Linked DNA regions of Homo sapiens: all the other regions are linked to region 2. The links are contacts of gene promoters, found by promoter capture Hi-C in human tissues and cell types (Jung and others, 2019). All regions are on one chromosome and are shown on one strand. Each heading gives the region's core, a stretch centred on a gene start or on the middle of the fragment in contact. The rest is flanking DNA. Distances are from core to core; before and after follow the strand shown. Region 1 overlaps MRPL48 (mitochondrial ribosomal protein L48). Region 2 holds the start of MRPL48 (mitochondrial ribosomal protein L48). Region 3 overlaps RAB6A (RAB6A, member RAS oncogene family).

Region 1 (3,170 bases), core at 222-2,721, 50 kb before region 2:
CATTGGGCTATTTGTCTATCCATGAGATAATACCACCATGTCCTAATAATTGGAGATTTATAGTAAGTCTTGCTATGGGGCTGAATTATTTTTTTAAGAAAAAAAGAAAAAAAAACTATCCCTACTGATATGTCTTAAGTCACCCCATCTAATAGCCAACAGTCTAGGGGCTTCCACAGCAGCATTGTTCCTAACAGAGCACCTGGAATGGTTCCCTTACACTGCTGCTCTGAAGGTCAACCTGTCAAGAGCAGGAAGCCAATTTGAGGAAGCACAGAGAAGACAAAGAAATGGTCCTTTTACAAGGCCAGTAATACTGATGATAGACCTGATCTCACAGGAATGTTTTGAGAACTGAACAAAATACTATATGTAAAATGGTTAATACAATCTGTGGCACATAAACACTAAACATTAACTTTTATTATTATTTTCACTTTATATTCCTCCTATCTAGCACAGGGCCCAGCAAAGAGAAAACATACAATGAGTCATTATTTTAAAATTTTAGAATAGGAAGGAATTTAGAGATGCTTTTGTCCTGGTTCTTCATCTTTGCAAGGGAAGAATATGAAGCCCAAACAGATAAATGTGTTCCCCAGAATCACGAAGCCAGACAAGACAGACCCCAGGAACTAAAATCCAGACCTCCTGATCCTAGTGCAGGAATTTTTCCTCTGCATTACTAAAGTTCTTAACAGTGGTGGCCACCCCAGGGTGCTAGACCTTGCGGTGAGTGGGAAGCCAACCTCTAGAAACCAACCACCAACATGCAGGCATTTGGCTCTCTCCTCTTCAGAGCCCAACACATTCATGGCCAAATGCAGCAATCAGGACTTCTCATCGTGACAGGCAGCACTGCAGTAAGAGCTGTCTAGAATGCTGAAGTCAGAATGCAATGGAGAGTGGCTGAAATTTTCCAGCAGAGAGGGGAGGAGCTTCTCTGAAGCCTGTAGGAGGCTTTTCTTAACCACAGAAAATGCCAGGACTCTCCAAAGGTATTGCTTTAGGGGAACAAAGAAAAGAAAGCTGATCCCAGTGTCCATCTTGGCATCTCATTTGCTTTCCCATGTTGGCCTAGATCTACCTGAACCAATTCACATTATCAAGATCCCACTGTGATATTACAATACATATTTCAGTTCTGAGCCAGGGCACAGCATAGCCAGCAAGAGCTTAACTGCATATAATACCAGATGCCAGTTTCTGTCATTTTATCTACACAATTTTTCTCACATCCATCCCATTCTCTCAATGCCTACTGATTGAGTTCAGGACTTCATGAATGCCATGAGGAACTATTAAAGATATATCTGTGGGCCAGGAGTGGAGGCTCATGCCTGTAATCCCAGCACTTTGGGAGGCCGAGGCAGGCGGACCATGAGGTCAGGAGTTCAAGACCAGCCTGACCAACATGGTGAAACCCCATCTCTACCAAAAATACAAAAAAATTAGCCAGGCGTGGTGGCGGGTGCCTGTAGTCCCAGATACTCAGGAGGCTGAGGCAGGAGAATCGCTTGAACCCGTGAAGCAGAGGTTGCAGTGAGCCAAGATCATGCCACTGACTGCACTCCAGCCCGGGCAACAGTGCGAGACTCTGTCTCTAAATAAATAAATAAATAAATCTGTGCAAAGGATATACATGAATAAAGCTGTGTTTTGGGAAGCCCAACCTGACTGCACATGAAGGCCAGCCAGGCAGGAAAGGAAAGGAAGTTAGGAGAAACGTAGTAGGGAGGATGGACTACTGTCCATCATCAAACGTTGGCACTCCTATGGCCTAGATTCACTAAGGGATGGCCCAGGATTGTCATTCTTAGGTCCTTGTAGGACTGCACTCTGGTCCCCCAAATAGACTATAGGGTAAATTATGAAACAAGTTTTGTACACAAATGTTCACATTATTACCCCTATTTCACAGACAGAAAACTGAGGTCCTCTGAAGGTAAGTTATTTGCCCAAGGTTACTGAGAAACTTTGCTGGAAAGAGCAGATAAAGAAAGGAATCAAATTAGAATCATAGCCTGTTACAGCCAGAAAGGATCTTAGAGATAATTTAATCTCTCCTTCCCCCTAATTCTACACAAGGGGGAAGTTGAGACCCAGAAAAGGAAAATGGCTTGTGTAAGGTTTAACAGCAAGACAAGGGCAAAGGTAACAACTTTATGTCTATCCAGAACTGGAAGCTGAGTCTGCAGCCCCAAGCCCAGGCTCTCTCCTTTAAAGTGATAGTATCTACCCATCGCTATAAGTGACATTCTCCAGGGTGAGAAAGTTGGATAAGAATTAATCCATTATCTGAATCCTCAAACAAAAAGGCTGATATGCCTGCAGCATATTCAGCTTCCAGAAATTCTAGTGATGAAAATAACAAAATTTACACCCGAGGATTTGAATGATTTGGGGTTAAGTACTATCAACAGTCCATAATGAGCTGTGAGGTATGCAGCGATTGAGTATGTTTATAACCTGGTGTTATACACTTGAGAGACATATGGACAAAAGGCCTGGCTCTGACTGGGGTAGCAAGGAGGCATGGCCTGATGCTATATAAAGTGCACTAGACTTAGATGGAAGCCACAGAAAATCTGACCTCAAATCCTAACTATCTGCTTAGTCACTACATGACACTGTGTGACCTTTCTAGGCCTCAGTTTCCTCATCTGTAACAGCTAAAGTTATTGTGAAGCTTAATAGAGTGAATTTATATGAAATGGAAATACTAGAGATGTTAGATGAATTCTGGCCATCCTCATTCCAAATATCGGCTCTGAAAACTTCTAGCCACGTGGGCACATCATTTAATCTTTCTCTGAGTCTTGGATTCCTCAAACAGGGTCTTGAATAACCATATGATACTCTAAGGCTTAAATAATATATATGTTTATAAGGCTATAAAATGAAATAATGTCTTTAAAGCCTGGCACATAGTACTTACAGCACCTGGTATATAATAATAAGTGGCATTTTTGGAAGGGCACGGTGGCTCATGCCTGTAATCCTGGCACTTTAGAAGGGTGAGGTGGGAGGATCACCTGAGGTCAGAAGTTCGAGACCAGACTGGCCAACATGGTGAAAACCCGTCTCTACTAAAAATACAAAAAATTAGCTGGGCATGTGGTGGTGAGTGACTGTAATCCCATCTACTTGGGAAGCTGAGGCAGGGAGAA
Region 2 (2,983 bases), core at 194-2,693:
CATGGAGAACCGAATGGTTGGAAATAGTATTCCTTGAAAAATAATCCCTCCCTTTTAGCCCTTCTTGGAACCAAGGCAAATCAAGGAGTGTAGTCACCAGTGTGACCATCTTTAACAATGGAATTTTGAAACTTTCTGATTTTTTTTTCTATTATCTTGGCACCATATTTGGCCAAATTCTTACAAACTGGCTAAGGTGAACAAGTGAATTGTTTCATAAAGGATGAAGTGAGGCGTGGGCCCTCACACATTCAAGGGCAGCCCCAAGGTAACCACAGGTAGACCCATGAGCTGCAACGACCATGCTGACCTATGAATCATGGAAATATAGTTGCCACAATTAATGCCTAAAACAAAATTTTAATATAAATTGCTAAAATGAGTCATTAATCTAAGCAGCATGATACAATTGAAAGAGCACAAATGAAATCTGTTAAATCTGTTAAGGGAACGGGAGAAAGCCCAGGAACACATTTATAGTGGTTCATACGGTTTTATGACAGTCACTTAAATAAGGTTTTGGAAACGAAAATGTTGTTAATTATTGCAGGGCGCGGTGGCTCATGCCTGTAATCCCGGCACTTTGGGAGGCCGAGGCGGGCAGATCACGTGGTCAGGAATTCGAGACCAGCCTGGCCAACACAGTGAAACCCCGTCTCTACTAAAAATACAAAAATTAGCCCGGCATGGTGTCCCGCGCCTGTAGTCCCAGCTACTGAGGAGGCTGAGGCAGGAGAATCGCTTGAACCCGGAAGGCGAAGGTTGTGGTGAGCCGGGATCGCACCACTGCACTCCAGCCTGGGCAACAGAGCGAAATCCGTCAAAAAAAAAAAAAAAAAAAAAAGAAAGAAAAGAACAAAAACCTAGTTTATTACTGCTGTTTCCTTATTACCAGGTAGCTTCACATCCTCATCAGTTCAGCAAGTCAAAACTGCATTCTTAGAAAAAATTCTGGAAGTTGATAACTGAATGCAAATATAAAATGACCTGCCCAAGGTCACACAGTTAATCGGGACCGTATCCTGGTGTCGTGATTCCCATCGCAGAGCTCTCCCTTTTCCAGAAACTGGGTGGAGAGAGTGGCATGTGGTGTGGGCGTGGCACGGGTCGGCTCGGCAGAGTTCGCCCCGGGTGGAAAGGAATCTGCTCAGCCCCTTCAACGCCAGGCAGCCGCATGTGCTGCTGGGAAGGACCTTGGGCGCCCCAGTGTCTCATCCCCGGATGTCCGCGCGCCGCCACCTCCCCGCTCTGCACCCTCCGCCATCTCCCCTCTCTGCACCGTCCGCCATCTCCCCGCGCCCCGCGTGCGTGGAATCTACGTTACCTTTTCCAAGGTTCCGCTCATCCTTTGCTGCTGCGCGGCCTCTAGCTGTGCAAACCGAAGACCGGACCCTGCAGCCGCGTTCCCAGGGCGTCTGAAAACACTGAAGGAACGGCCTTGACCAGGTGCAGCAGCAATATCCCACCGAGACTCACTCAACTTCCACATCATTTTAGTTCCGGAAGCTTCTGAAATTCAGAGTCTAGAAATTCTCCTGCTTTCCACCCTCACTCAGGTTGTCACATTCACTGCTGTTTCTCCAGAAAGAATTAATTACCATCTCTGTGTTACCCCAGTACTTAGCACACAATTCTAATTTTTCGCTTACAATATTATACACTAATGATTTGTTACCACCTCTTCTCTGTATTTGAAAGTTCTTAAAAGACTGAGATCCTGTCTGATTAATTCCTTTCAGCGTCTAGCACAGATCTGACTTTTTTGTTTGTTTGAGACGGAGTCTCGCTCTGTTGCGCAGGCTGGAGTGTAGTGGCACGATCTCAGCTCACTGCCACCTCCGCCTCTCGGGTTCAAGCAATTCTGTCTCCAAGTAGCTGGGATTACAGGTGCCCGCCACCACGCCCGCCTAATTTTTATATTTTTACTAGAGATGAGGTTTCTCCATGTTTGTCAGGCTGGTCTTGAACTCCCGACCTCAGGTGATCCGCCCGCCTCGGCCTCCTAAAGTGCTGGGATTACAAGCGTGAGCCACCAGGCCCAGCCAATCATCTCTTAAATTGAGTTTAGAAGTCAGATTTCCACGTCCTGTGCTAGATGCTGGAATAAATTAGTCAGGATCTCAGTCCTTGAGGAACTCAATCAAAATAATAGCAAAAAATAATTAGTATCTAGTAACAAATAATTAGTATCTAGTATGGTAAGTGAAATACCAGAATTGTGTGCAAAGTACTGAGGTAACACAGATACGACAATTAATTATGCTTGGAAATATAATGGACCAGGCATACCTCCTCCAGTACAGTGATTGATTATTGCCTAATAAATGCTATTGGGGTTTTAGAAGTGAAATTTTAAATAAGAAAAAAAAAATCAATCAAATGCTAGTATGTGCCAGGTCGGTTCTTTATGGGTGTATGGGTTCATTTAGTCTTTCCAATAACCCTATGAGGCTGAGGATCATTATACCCATTTCACAGATGAGGAACAGAGACAGGAAGAAGGTACCTAGTTAACATAATGTTATATAAGTGGTGAGCTGTTTCATTTCCGTGCCTGTGCTTCATCTATTTTATGGGACTGTGACTATAGGTTTGCAAAAGGGCAGGTTGGCAGCCAGAGAGTTTCTTTCCTTGTCTAGTCCAGGTAAATACAATCTAATAAGATACATGGCCGGGTGCGGTGGCTCATGCCTGTAATCCCAGCACTTTGGGAGGCCAAGGCAGGCGGATCACAAGGTCGGGAGTTTGAGACCAGCCTGACCAAAACTGTGAAACTCCGTCTCTACTAAAAATACAAAAATTAGCTGGGCGTAGTGGTGCATGCCTGTAATCCCAGCTACTCAGGAGCCTGAGGCAGGAGAATTGCCTGAATCCGGGAGGCAGAGCTTGCAGTGAGCCGAGACGGCGCCATTGCACTCCAGCCTGGGCGACAACGAAACTCCATCCCAAAAAAAAAAAAAAAAAAAAGATACAAATCCATCTT
Region 3 (2,827 bases), core at 76-2,575, 53 kb after region 2:
GTTTCCAAAAAAAAAAAAGTAGGTGAATTGTATGGTATGTGATTTATCTCTCTCTGTCTCTCTCTCTCTTTTTTTTTTTTTTTTTTAAGGCAAGGTTGGGATTCCAGAAACTGCCTCCTCAAATACTGCTTATTCTCTCAAATAGACTTTTGAGGTTGGGATAGGTTTGATATTAGCAGCAAAATCCTGTAAGAGGGCCTGTAACTTCAAGATTATGTCCTGCATATGGGTTATTACAGATTTACTTGTCTGATTTATTGTTGAAGAATTTAGGTAATCTCGTATATAAGTAGAGTTACGTATTTAAATTTATTTCTTTCCAAATAAGATTGGAAAAATAAATAAAGCTTCCTAAGTTAGCTCTCTAATACTCATGGTCCTTGTTAAAGGCCTGAGATACCTTCTTTTTCTTCTAGCTAAAGTCTCCTTCAGACCTCATGTTTAAAGTTATTTTTCTCTGGAAAGTTTTTCTTTACCTTCTAGCCTTATAATAGAAGACTGCCCCCATTCACAACATGCTCTTGTACTTTTTATCACTCTGCAGTAACTTTTTGTCTCTCTGACTTAACCTTAGCAAGTACTATGTTCTGATTGTTTTTATATCCCCAGCATTTTTCAGTCCCTGGCATTTAGTATGTTCTCATTAAAAGGAAGAAATATAAGTGAGTAGGATCATTTTTCTATTATATTTGCCCTGGGCTACAAAAGTTTCAAAGATTGAGCCCTATCATTTGAATTAGAATTTATACCCAAGTTGTTTGCCAGTGGTTGTTAATACAGTCAAATGGAATGTGAATCCTACTGAGATCATTGTTGTGTCTGGCCTTCACAGAATTGCAAGAGTGTGTAATTAGCATGGTGCAGATGGTGTGATTTTAGGAATGTTATTATAAATGTTGAAATTGTGCTAGAATTTCTATTTTGTTTCTGGAGATTGCATTGAGGCAGCATAGTGAATGCAAATGTAGTTATTAAGAGATGATTTACAAATACATGCATCAAAATTTTATATTTAAACATGACTTTCAAAGGAAATGCTCATTGGAGCATTTCTCATTTCAGGCTTTTGGATTAAGGATGCTCAAGTATAATGCAAATTTTCTAAAATCTGAAATATTTATGGTTCTGAGCATTTTGGTTAAGAGATACTCAACTTGTAGTTGTCTTGTTCCTACCTACTTTTACTGAGAGACACTCTCCTTTAGTTTTTTTTCTCCTAGATTTTAGATTACTCCTGTTAGGAACCAGGCCTCACGGCAGGAGGTAAGCAGTGGGCCTGAGCTCCACCTCCTGTCAGATCAGTGCTGGCATTAGATTCTCATAGGAGCGAGAACCCTATAGTGAACTGTGCATGTGAGGGATCTAGGTTGCATGCTCCTTATGAGAATCTAATGCCTGATGATCTGAGGTAGAACAGTTTCATCCTGAAACCATCCACCGTTCCTCCTCCCCAACTCCCACAGAAAAACTGTCTTCCATGAAACTGGTCCCTGGTGCCAAAAAGATTGGTGACTGCTACTGTAGATTTATCTCCAATTTGGGTTTGCCATTTTTTTTTCTCACTATTAAACTGGATAAACTGGCCAGGTGCGGTGGCTGAAGCCTGTAATCCCAGCTCTTTGGGGGGCTGAGGCAGGTATATCACCTGAGGTCAGGAGTTTGAGACCAGCCTGGCCAACATGGTGAAACTCTGTCTCTACTAAAAATACAAAAACTAGCTGGGCGTGGTGGCGGGCGCCTGTAATCTCAGCTACCCAGGAGGCTGAGGCAGGAGAATCGCTTGACCCCAGGAGGTGAAGGTTGCAGTGAGCTGATATCGTGTCACTGCACTCCAGCCTGGGCGACAGAGTGAGACCCCGTCTCAAAAACAAACAAAAACTTGATAAACTGGGTAAATTCTTCTCCGTTATTAAACTGGAGTTTTTTTCACTTCACAAGGTGAAGTGCCCTTCTTGTCACAGTATATCAGGGGTTCTTGATAGCCACATACATATATACACTTTTTATTGGGAATGATACATATATAGTAAAGTGTTTTACTCTTTGAGAAAAAGATTTTATTTTAAAGTATAACATCCAGTAAAGGGCACAAAGTAGACAAATCTTAAATATATGGCTTGTTGGAAATTTTACTTTTTTATTCACCTTTGTAATGATTAATACCAGCACTTAGAAGATTCCTTGGCTCCCTTTCTCAGTTAGAAACCCCTTACAACTTTTCTTGACTTCTATCAGCATTAATTCTACCAGTTTTGAACGTCATATAAATAGAATTACAGAGTATATATTCTTTTGTATCTGGTCTCTTTCACTCTATGTAGTGTCTGAAATTTGTTCATACAATTTTACATGTTAGGATATTTTGTCATTGTAATATTTCATTTTATGACTATGCCACAATTTGTCCATTCTCTTTATTTATTTATTTATTTTTATTTATTTATTTTTTTTTTTTTGAGATGGTGTCTCACACCCTGTCGCCCAGGCTGGAGTGCAGTGGCATGATCTCGGCTCACTGTAACCTCCACCTCCTGGGTTCAAACGATTCTCCTGCCTCAGTCTCCTGCGTAGCTGGGATTACAGGCGCGCATCACCACACCCGGCTAATTCTTGTATTTTTAGTAGAAATGAGGTTTTGCCATGTTGGCCAGGCTGATCTCAAACTCCTGACTTCAGGTGATCTGCCTGCCTCAGCCTCCCAAAGTGTTGGGATTACAGCTGTGAGCCACCGCGCCTGGCCTAAAATACAGCTGGAGAATTAATTCCAGCAAGGGATGGCTTGATGATTTTTGAAAGACTTGGCTTAAAACAACAACAACAAAAAAAT

What was found. The method cuts DNA at HindIII sites, captures the fragments that hold promoters and counts their contacts. A contact is called where the count stands out against the background at its distance.
Region 1: a fragment that was not itself captured here is called in contact with the fragment with the promoter of MRPL48 in region 2 in 6 of the 25 tissues and cell types used here (aorta, heart left ventricle, liver and 3 more).
Region 3: a fragment that was not itself captured here is called in contact with the fragment with the promoter of MRPL48 in region 2 in 4 of the 25 tissues and cell types used here (H1 embryonic stem cells, IMR-90 fibroblasts, mesendoderm cells and 1 more).

The regions. Positions count from the first base shown.
Region 1 is chr11:73,836,300-73,839,469 of GRCh38, reverse strand. All of the region lies in intron 4 of MRPL48 (mitochondrial ribosomal protein L48), which reads right to left. Among named protein-coding and RNA genes, the nearest start is that of COA4, 39 kb to the left of the region's middle. The HindIII fragment of the contact is 8,765 bases long and covers 1-3,170 here.
Region 2 is chr11:73,786,334-73,789,316 of GRCh38, reverse strand. MRPL48 (mitochondrial ribosomal protein L48) reads right to left here and starts at 1,443. Exons shown (of 8, transcript NM_016055.6): 1 at 1,325-1,443. The coding sequence starts at 1,345. RefSeq lists enhancers at 1,230-1,309, 1,450-1,509. The HindIII fragment of the contact is 15,089 bases long and covers 1-2,983 here.
Region 3 is chr11:73,733,180-73,736,006 of GRCh38, reverse strand. All of the region lies in intron 1 of RAB6A (RAB6A, member RAS oncogene family), which reads left to right. Among named protein-coding and RNA genes, the nearest start is that of RAB6A, 26 kb to the left of the region's middle. The HindIII fragment of the contact is 8,687 bases long and covers 1-2,827 here.